Regions from separate parts of the Homo sapiens genome. Here regions 2, 3 and 4 are each linked to region 1. Evidence: promoter capture Hi-C in human tissues and cell types (Jung and others, 2019). All regions are on one chromosome and are shown on one strand. Each heading gives the region's core, a stretch centred on a gene start or on the middle of the fragment in contact. The rest is flanking DNA. Distances are from core to core; before and after follow the strand shown.

Region 1 (3,772 bases), core at 840-3,339:
AGGCCTAGACCCAAGCAACTGTTCTTCCTCTGGACACCAGCCTCCACACCACTTCTGCCGTGGCCCCAGAGTCTGGTAAGAAGCTGCAGAAGCAGTTTCCCTGGCTGTGCTGCTGCCTGGAACAGAAGCAGGAAGCCAGGGGTGCTTTGGAATCTCCTGGCCCAGTATCTAGCTCTCAGCAGCTTCTCCCAAGTAGTTATGTAAACCCCCCTTCCACTGTTGGGCCCTTGAACCGGGGGACCCCCAGGAGGCCCCATCTCTGCCAGCAGCAGCCAGTGCCTCCTGCCTCCTCTCTCTAAGATCGGCTGGCTAACCTGGGCTCAATTTGTGGCTGCTTCCCAGCCCGGACGGAAGGATCGTGGTCTAGGATCCAGGGAACCCTAAGGGGAGCAGAAAGTGAGAACGGGGGAAGGGATCCACGCCAGAGGGAGAGTTGAGTGCCCAGAGTGGAAACGGGAGCAGAGGGAGCCAGGGCCAGCAGAGGAAGGCGGGAGCGGGCAGCAGAGAAGGCGGCAGCGGCCACCACTTAGTACCCAATGTCCCGGGAGTAGTCTTCCCGCCACCGATCACCAGCCTACCGGTGCATTGTTCGTGCCCAAGATAACAGGGCTGGGCCCGGGGTAGGACACCCAGCCGGGAGAGAACGAAAATGAAAAGCTAGCTGTCCTGGGCGGCTAAGCCCCGCTGCCATCCTCCCAGATGAAGCCTGCTCTCCGGAAAAAAAAAAAAAGGCCACTGGTTCTGCTGATTTACCGGGGCTCAGAGCCCCCACTGGCCCCGCAGCACCACGGGCACCGGAGCTAGGGGCGCGAAGTGCATGTGTGTAGGGGACTGGAGGTGGGGGAACCTGTTCTTTTCTTGTGTCTGATCCTGGGGCTCGCTTCCTGGGTCCTAGAACAGCAGCCAGGACGGAAGAAACTGTTCACGTTGCACCCCTTTCTCTAAGATTCCCAGGCCAAGAGTAGCTGCAGAAGGTGGTCCTGAATCTATGGCCTCCTTCTCTCTGCCTGACCCGGCTAGTGGATCCGGAGAGGGGACCAGGGAGAGCTCCTCCGAGCAGGGGTCCTTCGGGAGACAGAGAGGGGTCCAGGCTGAGAGAACTCTTCAAGCATGGCGAGTCTGCGTTATAGAATCGGGCGGGCGGCTCAACTTGGGGGAAGCACCAAGAAGAGCTGGGCGACCTGGAGCGCAGAACCGGCTTTGGGGAGCCACCCGGCGGGGCAGGGGTAGCACGGAGCCCGGGCCGCGGCCAGGCGGGGAGCGCGCGGGCCGGACTCACCTGTGAACCTGTCCTTTGTGTATCTGCGGTTACTCTCCATCCAGGGGAAGGTGAGGCCAGTGAGGTTGTTGACGCCCGGCATGGCAGGCACAGAGGGCACGGTGGGCAAGCCGGTGGCCAGGGGCTGGGGGTGGGCCACGGCTCCGGCGAGCGGCCTGTGTGCCGGCACCCGGATTACCCCCGCAGCGCTGAGTGCCCCGGCACCGCCGCTGCTGCCGCCGCCGCCGCCAGGACCGGGGCCGCCTGCCAAGGCCATGTTCACGTTGTAGGAGCCGGTCAGAGGACCCATGCTGCAGGCGCCGCCGCCGCCTGCCGGGCCTCCGGGGCCGCCGGGACCTCCAGTACCATAGGCCCCCGCTCCTCCAGCCCCCGTCGCGGCCGCGGAGCCCCCGCCGCCGTAAGTGTAGGCGCCTCCGACCAAGCAGCCAAGGCCGTATTCTCCGTCCTGGAGGCGCGAGGCGGGTCCCATGCAGCCACCCTGGTCCGGGCTGTTGAGGATCTGGTCGATGCCGAAGCTAATGGGCTCTGCGTGACCCGGGTGGAGGTGGTGCGGACCCAGGTGCTCCATGCTGGCCCTGGCCCCACCGGGGGGCCCGGGCGGCGGCGCTCGCTGCGCTCGGCTCGGGGGGCAGCTAGCAGGGGCTGGGAGGCAACAGCGGCTCCTGGCTGCGCGGAGACTTGGAAGCGAAGTGCGCAGAAAGGCTAAAGTAGAAGGGGGAGGGGAGGGAGAGAGGGGGCGCCGTATTCTTCCCCTCTCTGGCTTCTGCTTCCCCGCTCCGGCTGCTCGCTCGCTGTTGACTCTGGGACATCAATCACCAGGCGAAAAAGCCCGGTGCAAGAGAGCTTCGCGGTTTCGACTGGGTCTCTCCATTGGCTGTGCGCGGAGAGGAGCGGGGTGAATGACAGCGCGAGGGAGGGGAGGGGAGGGGGAGAGGAAGGCCAGAAGCCGAGACAGATGCAGGAGCCAGAGATAGAGGGACGGAGACCAAGACTCGGAGTAGTTCATGAAGAGAGAGAAGAGGGGAACAAGGCGAGGCTTAAAAGGAAAAGGGAAAACAGGAAGCGACCATTCCCAGAGACGGACAGACAGACAAACCCAAGGAGGGTGAAGTCAACTGTCTTCCCGGCCTGTTGGGAGCCCTCCCCTCACTTTGAACTGGGCCAAAGGAGTCCAGCCCACAAGGCGTCTGAGGAAGGGATGTCTCTGCCCAACTGGAGAATCTCCTCAAGGGCTCAGCTGCGAAACACCTGTCACTCAACCAGGAGATTTACTCCAAATTTCAAGTCCAGCTTTTTAGAAAGTAGAAGACTGTCTACTCCCCAGGTATGGAGCCCAGGCCCTGAGGCAGGACGGTGAGTTCAGGCTTGCCCTTCTTTAAAACACAGGCCTATGAACAACTGGCTATATGTTATAAAAATCAGCAACCACCCCCCAACTCAGCCTTCTTAGACAAATTCAGGAAGGGAACATATCCTGAAAGGCAGGCACAAGTCAAGAGGGTTGGTTTGGGGTCTGCTGCCAGGGTGCCCATGCCTCAACATACCCCTTTGGTTTTAAATAAACAGATGCGTCAAGAAGTAAAATCCTACAGGGTTCGAAAGAGGCAATTCCTACAGTGTTTGAATGAATTCAACCAGATTGCATTCCACCTAACAATTACCCCAGGGTTGGCTATTCCAGACAAGAAGCCTTTGGACTGTGGTGTGTGTTCTTTTCTTACGTTTGGAATCTTGGGAGGGAGCCATAGGGGCTTAAGGCCGTGGGGGCTGGGATTGGTGGGACTAGGATCAGGGAAGTGCATCCAGGACAAATTTAGGCCTTTCCAACGTTTTGCCAGTGGCTGTCTGGCTGAGAGCCCAAGAGAAAAGGAGGAAACTCCCTTTTTCTTCTTCCTGTCTTTCCCCTCTCCAGTAGAAAATGTTTGCTACCTTTTAGAAGCCAAGCTTTGGGAAAGGCACAGGTTCCATCACTTGGGATCTATTTCTGTTCTATTTCAGTTCAGTTTCAGATTAGACTTTTGGGTAGGCCCTGTCTCTATCTGGAAAGATGCTAGGATGTGAAGACTCACATTCTCTCCCATCAAGTCTTATTGCAATCTATTTGCTTTGGGCATGTCTGTCACCTCCACTTGAAGAGATCTTCTTGGAGGCAGAGAGTGGCTTATTCATTTCTGTTCTCTCCTGAAGAATACAGCCCCAAACAACAAAATATGGTCATCTTGGGTGAATAACAAAGAATGTATCTCTTTATTCAATAATATTTATTGAGTACTGTACTCACTATGTGTCAGGCACTGTTCTAGGCATGGGGGACATAGCAGTGAACAAAACAAAGGTCCTGACCTCATGAAGCTTACATTCTATAGAGGGGGTCAGACAATAAGCAAAGAAGCAAATACAACAAGACAGATGTTAGTATTATGGAGAACAATATAAACTCTACACCAATCCTTCGAGATGAGTATTCTCCCTATTTTACAGATGTGAGGAAAG
Region 2 (3,772 bases), core at 736-3,235, 480 kb after region 1:
ACCCTAACTCTCCACATGCTCTGCAGTCCGCCACTAGCTGGTCCACAAAGCCTTTGCGAACTGCTCCTTCCCCTCACTCAGGGGTACTCAAAGCCTGGTGCCCAAAGAGAATGGAGCCCAGCAGGTCTGGTCTGCAGCAGGTAAAGAGAAGGGACAAGAAATTCCTGTTGCAGAGGCAGAGAAATCATGCTCCAGGAGTCACTGTGCTGCCGGTAGTCATGGTGAGGTCCAGCATGAAAGCCTTAGAGAAAATGGCATTAAATCTGGCTTGATGGGCTTTAAGACCCCAACCCGCAGAAAATGGGATGGGGTAAGGCTAATGGTGGCATCTGAGGTAGAAGAAAGAGCATGGACAAAAGAGGGAGAGAACCAGCTCATGTTCCTATTTGCTTGGGTGGGGCTCAGGAGGGATATGGAGGGGCTGGGGGAGGCATCATTGAGAACCAAGGACAGAAAAGCAGGTTGAGGGGGAAGGGAACTTCCTATTGTGAAGGGCTTGTTCTGTCTGATAGCAGAAGGAATACAGGCTTTATTGTTTGAGGAGTGGGGAACCATAGATGGTTTCTGAACTATGGGAGAAGAAGTTACAGTTGTGGTTTGGGCTGATTACACTGATAGAAGAATGCAGGAGGAAAAAGGATAAGTGGGGGGTCACGACAAGGATGACACTTTGCCGGTGTGCCTGGATGTCCCACCTCCTGGAGGACATCAAAGAGGTGTGACAGAAGAAGCCCTCTCCAAGGAGGCCTCCCACTCTTCATCACTTCGACTCCTGGGTTCCTTTACCTCAGGATTTCAGCTCTGAATGATTCTCTCCTCCAGACCTTCAGCAAACAACTGGAACCTCTGCTAGCCACCCCATGTTTCCTGCAGTGACGTGTTAAGAGGGTAGTGGGCTTCAGACCTGTGGATATGTGGGTGAGGGCATTATTGTAGCGATGTGACTTATTGGTTCTGTCCTTTCCAGCTGAGTGGTCAACTGGAAGAAGGTGGGGAGTAGAAGGTGGTGAGACTGGTGAAGGTGGTGGGAGTGGCAGAGGTGGCGGGATTGGTGGAGGTGGCGGGAGTGGCAGAGGTGGTGGAGGTGGCGGGGGTGGTTGGAGTGGGGAAGGTGGTGGGAATAGTGGAGGTGGTGGGGGTGGTGGGAGTGGGGAAGGTGGTGGGAATCGTGGAGGTGGTGGGGGTGGTGGGAGTGGGGAAGGTGGTGGGAATCGTGGAGGTGGTGGGGGTGGTGGGAGTGGGGAAGGTGGTGGGAATCGTGGAGGTGGTGGGGGTGGTGGGAGTGGGGAAGGTGGTGGGAATCGTGGAGGTGGTGGGGGTGGTGGGAGTGGGGAAGGTGGTGGGAATCGTGGAGGTGGTGGGGGTGGTGGGAGTGGGGAAGGTGGTGGGAATCGTGGAGGTGGTGGGGGTGGTGGGAGTGGGGAAGGTGGTGGGAATCGTGGAGGTGGTGGTGGGGGTGGTGGAGGTGGTGGGACTAGCGGAGGTGGTGGGAGTGGTGGAGGTTGCGGGATTGGTCAAGGTGGTGGGAGTGGTGGAGGTGGTGGGAATGGTGGAGGTGGTGGGAGTGGGGAAGGTGGTGGGAGTGGTGGAGGTGGTGGGAGTGGTGGAGGTGGTGGGAGTGGGGAAGGTGGTGGGAATAGTGGAGGTGGTGGGAGTGGTGGAGGTGGTGGGAATAGTGGAGGTGGTGGGAGTGGGGAAGGTGGTGGGAATAGTGGAGGTGGTGGGAGTGGGGAAGGTGGTGGGAATAGTGGAGGTGGCGGGAGTGGGGAAGATGGTGGGAGTGGGGGTGGTGGTGGGGGTGGTGGAGGTGGTGGGACTAGTGGAGGTGGTGGGAGTGGTGCAGGTTGCGGGATTGGTCGAGGTGGTGGGAATGGTGGAGGTGGTGGGACTGGTGGAGGTGGTGGGAGTGGGGAAGGTGGTGGGAGTGGTGAAGGTGGTGGGAGTGGTGGAGGTGGTGGGAGTGGTGGAGGTGGTGGGAATGGTGGAGGTGGTGGGAATGGTGGAGGTGGTGGGACTGGTGGAGGTGGTGGGAGTGGGGAAGGTGGTGGGAGTGGTGGAGGTGGTGGGAGTGGTGGAGGTGGTGGGAGTGGTGAAGGTGGTGGGAATAGTGGAGGTGGTGGGAGTGGTGGAGGTTGCGGGATTGGTCGAGGTGGTGGGAGTGGTGAAGGTTATGGGCGTGGTCAGTGTGGTGGGATTGGTCAAGGTAGTAGGAGTGGTGAAGGTGGTGAGCACCGAATGCTCATTACTTTTCCAATTAATCCAAATAAGAGCAGTCTGCAGTTATGTTCTGGGCTCCTTGCCAAAGCGACCCTCACATCGTGGCCATTTGGCACTAGGAGAGGGTGCAACTTTGAGGGTGTGGAGCCTTGAAGGGGTCTCCTGCCTGCCCATTTGGGAGTACGTTTGTTCAAACTCATACAGGGCGTTGGAGTGTCAGCTGGCTGGTCAGCCACCTGGCTGGTCCTCACAGGGTCAGAGGGCACACTCAGGGAAGGAGTAGAAGGAAATGATTCCTCCAACCCTGCAGTGCCAGTGCCATCAGCTGTAGGTATATTAAGAGGGGTGCCATGCGCCCCTCAGGAAGGAATGGGTCTTTGCAATAGAGCTAAGTACTCTACGCCAGGCAACCTGAGAAGGTACACAAACACCCGCAATCTCCCCTTCTCCTCTCTGTCTTTACCCATATCGTCTATGTGACTATCCACCTTAGACATGTACAACACGCCCAACACATACAGCCAGACATGTAGACAATTCCACATGTATGCATAGGCAGGGCCTCCTAAGCAAATCCACAATAGCCATTTGTGTTTGCCATTACAATGTGTCTGTATGAATCATTGCTTGAATGATCACAGAGTACGATTATATATCACAATATCACGAGTACACAACTTCACAAGTACACGCAGGAACATGAATATAAATGTATATAGGGATTCATTTACACATACATGAACATATACCTCATGCCCTGTTCATGTACCCCAGGGGTTCTTTTTAAAAAGAGAGGAACATAATGGGGCAAGTGGGGGTGGGGAATATGGTGGGGGGAGCATTTGAAATTGCAAGAACGACAGAAAAGTAATGAGCTGAAAAACCCAGGCCCAGCTCCTGCCTGCCCCCCACCCCTCAGTAGGCCCTCCGTGAAGGGCCCAGTGCCACGGTCCCCTCACCTCCCTTAGAGCCCGAGTTTTAATTTGGGCGGCGTAATTTTTGTGCGAACGGTTGGGCGCCTTTCGTTGGGAAATTGGGAGGAATGCAAACAAGATTTCACTTCATTAAACAGGGGCAAACAGTAGAGAAATTGCACTTACTTATGGAAATGACTTTTAAACATGCACAGCATTTACTGGCACTGCCCGCGCTGAAATTCTTCGAGGATTATACATGTGAATAATTCACCGCGGGCCAATTAGAACCCACTCTGTCCCTAACCCCCCCCAGCCCCCATCCCACCCCATCTTGATGATGGCCCAGCCTCCTGCCTCTTCCAGCTCCCCGTCTTTCCCTCTCATTCCTAGTCCTGCATGATGGGAAGTAGGCTGTCACACACACGTTTAAGAGACACCTCAAACATGGTGACACACAGGTATGATAACACCTCAAACATGTTCAAATACACACAGACACACAACGTGCAAACTCACAGGGTGAAACACTGTGATGCCTCGACATGGCCACACGCAGATACATTTTGATGACTCAAACATGTCAATACACACAACAAACATGTCAATACAACTCAACAATGGTTAGAAATAGGCTTTGG
Region 3 (3,772 bases), core at 320-2,819, 370 kb before region 1:
TCTGACAGTAAAAACCTGCCAGAAATGAGCGCTGTGTTTATGTTTCTTTGCAGGCAGCAAAAAATCAACCGACAGCTTATTACTGGTTGCGTGTTACTTATATTTAAAAGACTCCAGGCAGTTAACTTTCTACGTACTGTTAAAACTTTGCTCACAAGATGGGAAAAAATGGGAAAAAAGCCCCAGTGATACAGACTTGGGGAAGTAAGAGAAGAAAAAACAGGGAGAAGGGCAATGCAAGGAAACAAGTACATTGTATAAAATCTTTTAAAATGTCGTGGTTATCTTATTAAATGTTCAGTCAGCATATATAGGCATAAAATCCTTCAAAAAATAATTCTGGATTCCTAAGACATGGTATGAACTATATCTAGGAGCAAAGCAAGAGAATTTTGCTCACTCAAATTTTTTCAGAGACCCTGAGTCCATGCCTGAAGAATTCAATTAACTGCAGAATTCCTAGATCTCTTTTCAAAAACCCCTGCAGCTAGAAAAGCATTCACTAACTACATAATTTAACCCTTTGTGAAACAATGAGTACACTATAGCTAGGAAATAAGTAAACTTCAGTTGTTTAGAGCACTTCATCTAGCCTTGCCATCCACCTTGCATACCTAGGGTTAGTCAACTGAGATTGAAATAGTCTGCTGAAAGATTTCCTTTCAGTCAATTTTGAATCTGAGCTTGGAATTTTAACATTTAACTATGGCAGAGTTGGCATCTTGGCTTGGTACAGCATGACTGTTACACTTTTTATAACCAACACTACCAAGGACAATAAACAAGGTATATAATAGAACTGCTGCTCATCAATGCCTGTCCTCCCCACCCCCAAGACTGATAACAGGGCTGAAAACAAATCTGTATAAAAATTGCCAAGTCTATCAGACTGAACACTCTAATATTGAAATATTACAAAAAAACATGAGCTAAATTTTGGGAGGACAGAGAAAGGCAGGAAAGGTCTTATAGGACTTAGAGTTGAAGCCTAACTTGAGCAACTGTATTTAACATTCACCATGTGCTACAATAGTGCCAATGAGCTGATGGCTTCATGCTTCAGTTCAAAGGGCCACCCATTTTGAAAGGTAAAAAAATTTGGAAAACTAGCCAGGCGCGAAAACTACAGGTGGCTCACGCCTGTAACCCCAGCACTTTGGGAGGCTGAGGCGGCGGATCACCTGAGGTTGGGAGTTCGAGATCAGCCTGACCAACATGGTGAAACCCCGTCTCTACTAAAAATAGAAAAATTAGCAGTGCATGGTGGCCGGCACCGGTAGTCCCAGCTAATGGGAGGCTGAGGCAGGAGAATTGCTTGAATCCTGGAGGCGGAGGTTGCAGTGAGCTGAGATTGTGCCACTGCACTCCAGCCTGGGCGACACAGCGAGACTCCGTCTCAAAAAAAAAAAAAAATTGGAAAACTGAACATCAAAATAGCAAACCAAATTCATCTTCAAAAAGGATCAAATCTGAGTCATTTTGTTTTCACTTTGATTAAATAAAGATCTATGGGGGGGGTCAAGCAAAGAATGTTTAATTCATTTTCTAAAAATAGCATTTACAGTAGACACATTTTAGTAAATATGAAAAATTCAGATACACAAAAAACATGGAAATTGCCCATAATTTCAACTATCAACAAAGACATAATGTTCACATTTTGGTGGGTATATTTGTTTTTTTATTATTATTTTTTTTTTTTTATTTTTTTGAGACGGAGTCTCGCTCTGTCGCCCAGGTTGGAGTGCAGTGGCACAATCTCTGCTCACTGCAAGCTCCACCTCCTAGGTTCACGCCATTCTCCTGCCTCAGCTTCCTGAGCAGCTGGGACTACAGGCGCCTGCCACCACGCCCGGCTAATTTTTTTGAATTTTTAGTAGAGACGGGGTTTCACCGTGTTAACCAGGATGGTCTTGATCTCCTGACCTCATGATCCGCCCGCCTCGGCCTCCCAGAGTGCTGGGATTACAGGCGTAAGCCACCGCGCCCGGCCATCTTTCTGTTTATTTAAAAATGTATTAGTCAACGGCCAGGCATGGTGGCTCATGCCTGTAATCCCAGCACTTTGGGAGGCTGAGGCAGGCGGATCACTTAAGGTCAAGAGTCTTAGACCAGCCTGGCCAACATGGTGAAACCTCGTGTCTACTAAAAAATATATATATATATATATATACATATACATATATATATACATATATATACACATATATATATATAAATATATACTCAGGTGCAGTGGTGCACGCCTGTAATCCCAGCTACTTGGGAGGCTGAGGCAGGAGGATTGCTTGAACACGGGAGGCAGAAGTTGCAGTGAGCTGAGATTGTACCACTGCACTCCAGCCTGGGTGACAGAGTAAGACTTCATCTCAAAAAGAAAACAAAATTTTTTTAAAATTTATTAGTCAAATATTTGAAGAATATGGGGGAGGGGGAGTGTATCTGTGCCATCTAGAGAATTCTTTGTTCATAATATCAAATTGATCAGAGCAAGCAAAATTAATCTTTGCTGTTAGAGAAGTCAAGATCTGATCCTGGAGGACAGAGAATTATAGGTTATTGTGATGAGGGGAGCTGAAAGGAGGGGAGGAAAGAGGAGAAAAGAAAGAGAGTCAAAGGGAGAGAAAGTGAGGAGAGAAAGAAAAGGGAAATGGAAGGGGGAAAATGGGAAAGCAGAAGGAGGAACGCAAGGAGAGGAAGGGCTAGGGCTAGAGAAGAGGGTAGAAGAGGAAGAGGAATGACAAAAGTGACCGAGGATTGGGGAAAGGACAGTGGATACTAGGCAGTGGGGTTGGTGAGAGATGGGATAAGGATGAAGGAAGAGGGATAAGCAGGTCTAGGGGAAAGATAGGGATGGGGAGAGATGATGAGCTGGGGAAGAGATGGAGGGAGATGGCTACAGGAGAGATGAAGTGAGAAATAGGTGGGAAGGGGGAGAATGAATATAACCAAATGCAAAAGGGACCCAGCATTACCAAGCTCACCTGCTCTAAGAGGAGCAATATGCTTGTTGGACAAACATCCTCTCCCACACAATAAACATCAAGAGGGAGAGGAGATAAAAAACTATTTTTTAAAACCACTACTTAATGTTTCAGGCGGAGTAATAAAGTTTAATTGTCTGGAATCTGGTTGTTCTTTCTGTGTAACTTCCTCAGGTGGAGGTTGTTCACCTAGATGTCAAATTATGTTAAGATTACCAGAATAAAATTTCTGTGATGCTGAAAGTTGAAACTGAGAGTCTTCTGCCCAACTTACCCCCAACACCCTTCTCCCTTCAGTTAGCATCAGAAAATTCAGTTCTAACATTAGCAGGGAATGCATCAGATGTCAGAGCAAAACACAGAGGCACATGTAAAACAGTTAAAAAGTGTATGGGAAAAATACAGTCGGGTTTAAATAAAGAAGGAAAAAACTACCCTGCTCTTCTTTGTGCTCTAATCCTTCAATTTCTGTGTTCTATAAAAAGGCCTCAACAACTTGGTAAAACTTGCTCCTGAAAAAAGCCTTTGAGAAGGCTTTATCTAAAACTGGGATTAGGAAAATACAAAGTTTTTTGGATAGGATCTCAAGAAGCCAACTCAACTTTCTAGAAGAAATTCAACTCTTTTCAAATGCTTGTTAATGCATGTTAAATGCAGCAAGAAATAATTCTATGAGGCAGCAGCACAAGCTTCTCTTAGCTGCAGTGAATGAAGTAAATGACTTGTAATTTCTGGAAGTCTTGGTTATCTTCAGGTAAAACTTTAATAACCCTGGGAACATCAAGGGA
Region 4 (3,772 bases), core at 812-3,311, 330 kb before region 1:
TTGGGGCACAGTGGTGAGCTATTTTTTTTTTTTTTTTTTGAGACGGAGTTTTGCTCTTGTTGCCCAGGCTGGAGTGCAATGGCGCAATCTCAGCTCACCGCAACCTCTGCCTCTGGGGTTCAAGTGATTCTCCTGCCTCAGCCTCCTGAGTAGCTGGGATTACAGGCATGCGCCAGCATGCCCAGCAAATTTTTGTATTTTTAGTAGAGACTGGGTTTCTCCATGTTGGTCAGGCTGGTCTCGAACTCCCGACTTCAGGTATTCGCCTGCCTCAGCCTCCCAAAGTGGTGGGATTATAGGCGTTAGCCACCTTGCCCGGCTGCTGTTTTTTTAAGTTATTATTAACAATGGCCTTTTCTTCTAGAAAAAGCAAACAAAATATTGCTCATACTAAAAGGGCTAACTTTATTACAGGCAGATCTGTTTTTATACTTTTTTAAAAATGCCAACCAGCTGTCCTGTACATGTATACCTAGAATGTTTTTTAAATAACTGGGAAAACCATGTCACCTGATTGAAAGTGATGGCTATGGCCAGGCCAACGTCCGAGTACTCTTAATATAAGCTCCAGTGCTTAAAGAATGGCAAATCAAGGGTTTCCTCCTGTCTTTTGTTTTGCTGTTGGTAGCTTTTTATTTTAAGTAAGGCTGAATTTCATACCTGTCTAAGTGAATTCTTCTCTGGTATTATCTTCCTAGGGGGTTCGCCATTATTACAGTCTTCTCTCTCTGAGGAATTCTGTGAAAGAAAGTAAGCTTTAATTCAGTTCTCATTATCTTCAATCTTATCCTTTGGGAGTAAACTGAATTACATTTCTAATTCTGTAAGTTAGAACATACATATATTTATACAATTATTCACTTGAAGATTTGTATACATACAGATATACACATATGTAAAAGAAAACATATGCCCATGTATATAAATAAATTATGTAAGGATTTAGATGGGAAGTATTTCATGTATCTTTAAGCATTGTGTAGGAGATCATATTCATTAGATCTCTAGCTTGCACTTTGACACAGGTTGACACTGGATACAAGAAAGTTCCAGCCCACACTTAGCTGATGACAACTAAAACCATGATTATTACCTTCTCTCGATTATAGTAGATGTTTGGTTGGCACAGATCTCCAAGTCTGGGTCCTAAAAATAGTTATTTCTCTTCCCCCTCTTCTCAGATTTGATTTTATTTTCTTTGATAAAAGTAGCATAGGACTTAAAAAAACATTTACTCAGTAGTTTAGGATTAGAGTCCATTCCTTGGCACTGTCACCTCAAACAGCAGCTAGAGGCCCTAAAATGTCAGTGGGGTTTTTATATACTTAGGAGGGGGAAAAAAACAACAATCCAACTGAAAATGAGTTCATAAGTACTAAAAATCTGCTAGTCAATATATGTAAATCACTATCTACAAGGCAAAATACAGAAAATCCAAATTACATATTATTTGAGTTCCATTTTCAGCAACAACATTAGTAACATTAATAACATTAATATTTAAAACCCTGCAGTTGTGCTAGGTGCGGTGGCTCACACTTGTAATCCCAGCACTTTGGGAGGCCAAGGCGGGCAGATCATCTGAGGTCAGGAGTTTGAGACCAGCCTGGCCAACATGCTGAAACTGTGTCTCTACTAAAAATACAAAATTAGCCAAGTGTGGTGGTGGGTGCCTGTAATCCCAGCTACTCGAGAGTCTGAGGCAGGAGAATCGCCTGAACCCAGGAGGCCGAGGTTGCAGTGAGCCGAGATCACACCACTGCACTCCAGCCTGAGTGACAGAGCAAGGTTCCGTCTCAAAACAACAACAACAAAAAACTTACAGTTAATATATTCCTTACATTACATATAGTCATAACGTTCTAACAGGAGGGTTAGTTTATTTGTAGGTTCAGAAATTATTTTTAACATGAGAGTTTATCTGAAAATTTTCATACAAGCATGAAATTATTAATATACAATCATTACTGTGTTCTAAACCTACATGTAAATTTCACTTTTTTGGTTTCTATTAGATATTACATTTTGAAAGATACTGAGAGATAAAAAACGTACTGTGTCATTCTGAGGCCCTTTCACCTCTGTGGCTGACACCTGTGTGTCACCTTTAGTAAGCCTGACAGGCCAGTACCCTAATGTGTTTCTTTTGGGCAGAAATATCTTATGAGGTTTAACTTGATATTTTACATTTGTGATGATCCCTTGTAAAAGTCCCTAAAATTAAAGAAAAAGCATGCTATATTACAAAGAAAGGGACAGAGACTCAAGAACTTCAGAGTTCTAACTTCTTTTCCTCCCTGTTTGGAAAAAAAGGAATGGAGATCATCTACCAAAAAATGGAGGAAGGATATAATTGAATTAATGACTACAAAGCTTGACAAATGAGGCGACTGGCAATACATGCTATGTAAGAGTATCAAACAAAGAAAGGGAAAGGTCAACATTTATTTACCCCATAACATCAAGTTGTATGTTTAACTTTTTTTTTTTAAATGTAAAGATCAATGTTTTAAATACCAAAATTAAATGCCTTATATAATAGAAGCTTAAGCCAGTATCCAATTATAAACTTAGAATTTGCAAGTAACTCTCTTTCAGGTCATGAAATTCCTCCTTTAAATAAATAAATAAAAAGATCAGATAAACTAAACCTGTTTAATTCAGTGTAAGATCCTGTATTTCAAAATTAATTATGTTTTTTGAAATGTTATCATATAACTTGGAGCCTAATTACTTTTTGCTGGAAGTTTGTCATACCAAAGATACTATAAATCACATTTTTATTATACAGGTACTTGGGCTGATACACAATTGCTGGCAAACTCCTCTATACTGAATTATAAAGTGAAAAATAGTCATCTCAACCTTAACAGCCTGAGTATTGACTAGCCCATACTCACAATTTTCTTTTTACTGACCCTCTATTTTATCAGATTTAGATGGATAACCACTGGGTGGGTATTATGAAAATGTCTAAAGAATGAAAACACAAAGGGAGCTTAAAGGGTGTTACTAACCTAACATAGAACACAGAGCTTCTTAGGAGTTCCTTTCCCCTTTCTATCCCACTAGGGCAAAGAATATTTAAATGGTATTGTTAAAAATAACTCTTAAACAAAAAATGGGGGAAACCCATAAACATTGGTATGTTCTTTTAATACAGATTAACCCAACACTTTTACTCTGGGCCATCCATCATGAGAAATCAAATCAAACAAAAAATCCAACTTATAATGTTGTTACAAAAAAATAGAGGTAGGGACATTAAACAGTCATGATATCAGGAACAAGGATTAGGAACCCTCCTAATACTAAAGAGTAGAAGCAGAATGCCAGTGAATGAGATTACTAGGTCTACAGTCTTGAGGGTAAGGGGTAATGATGAAATAGCCATGTATACCTAAGTAGTCACCTCAACAGTTCTCAAAGCCTGTCCAACATCACCCAGGAAAGCTCAGCAACACAGTTATTCCTTGCATCTTTATCTATGAGGATTCCCAATAAGCTATGTGCATAATTTTCCTAGATCATCAGGCTAAATTATATCCAATAAATTCTATTTAAGGATAAGTGATTAATATAAGGAAGAATCATCATTGGGTGCTAAAATTAGCAAGTGAGCCTAGTACTTTGGCATATGCGTGTAATCCCAGCTGCTCAGGAGGTGGAGGCAGAGGGACTGCCTGAGTCCAGGAGTTTGAGAGCAGTCTGGGCATCACAGCAAGACACCATCTCAAAAACCTAAGTAAAATTTAAAACTACAATAAGTGAG

What was found. The method cuts DNA at HindIII sites, captures the fragments that hold promoters and counts their contacts. A contact is called where the count stands out against the background at its distance.
Region 2: a contact is called between a fragment that was not itself captured here and the fragment with the promoter of TLX1 in region 1, in 1 of the 25 tissues and cell types used here (H1 embryonic stem cells).
Region 3: a fragment that was not itself captured here is called in contact with the fragment with the promoter of TLX1 in region 1 in 3 of the 25 tissues and cell types used here (adrenal gland, lymphoblastoid cells and mesenchymal stem cells).
Region 4: a fragment that was not itself captured here is called in contact with the fragment with the promoter of TLX1 in region 1 in 2 of the 25 tissues and cell types used here (hippocampus and mesenchymal stem cells).

What each region holds. Positions count from the first base shown.
Region 1 is chr10:101,129,617-101,133,388 of GRCh38, reverse strand. It overlaps TLX1 (T cell leukemia homeobox 1), which reads right to left and starts at 2,089. Exons shown (of 3, transcript NM_005521.4): 1 at 1,280-2,089. The coding sequence starts at 1,847. TLX1NB (TLX1 neighbor) reads left to right here and starts at 2,243. Exons shown (of 3, transcript NR_130723.1): 1 at 2,243-2,603. The HindIII fragment of the contact is 11,337 bases long and covers 1-3,772 here.
Region 2 is chr10:100,649,337-100,653,108 of GRCh38, reverse strand. No RefSeq gene overlaps it. Among named protein-coding and RNA genes, the nearest start is that of PAX2, 94 kb to the left of the region's middle. The HindIII fragment of the contact is 8,696 bases long and covers 1-3,772 here.
Region 3 is chr10:101,503,559-101,507,330 of GRCh38, reverse strand. The region is part of intron 4 of BTRC (beta-transducin repeat containing E3 ubiquitin protein ligase); the gene reads right to left. Among named protein-coding and RNA genes, the nearest start is that of POLL, 83 kb to the left of the region's middle. RefSeq lists an enhancer at 1-439. The HindIII fragment of the contact is 4,822 bases long and covers 1-3,772 here.
Region 4 is chr10:101,458,947-101,462,718 of GRCh38, reverse strand. BTRC (beta-transducin repeat containing E3 ubiquitin protein ligase) reads right to left here. Exons shown (of 15, transcript NM_033637.4): 3 at 661-738. Among named protein-coding and RNA genes, the nearest start is that of BTRC, 110 kb to the right of the region's middle. The HindIII fragment of the contact is 4,592 bases long and covers 1-3,772 here.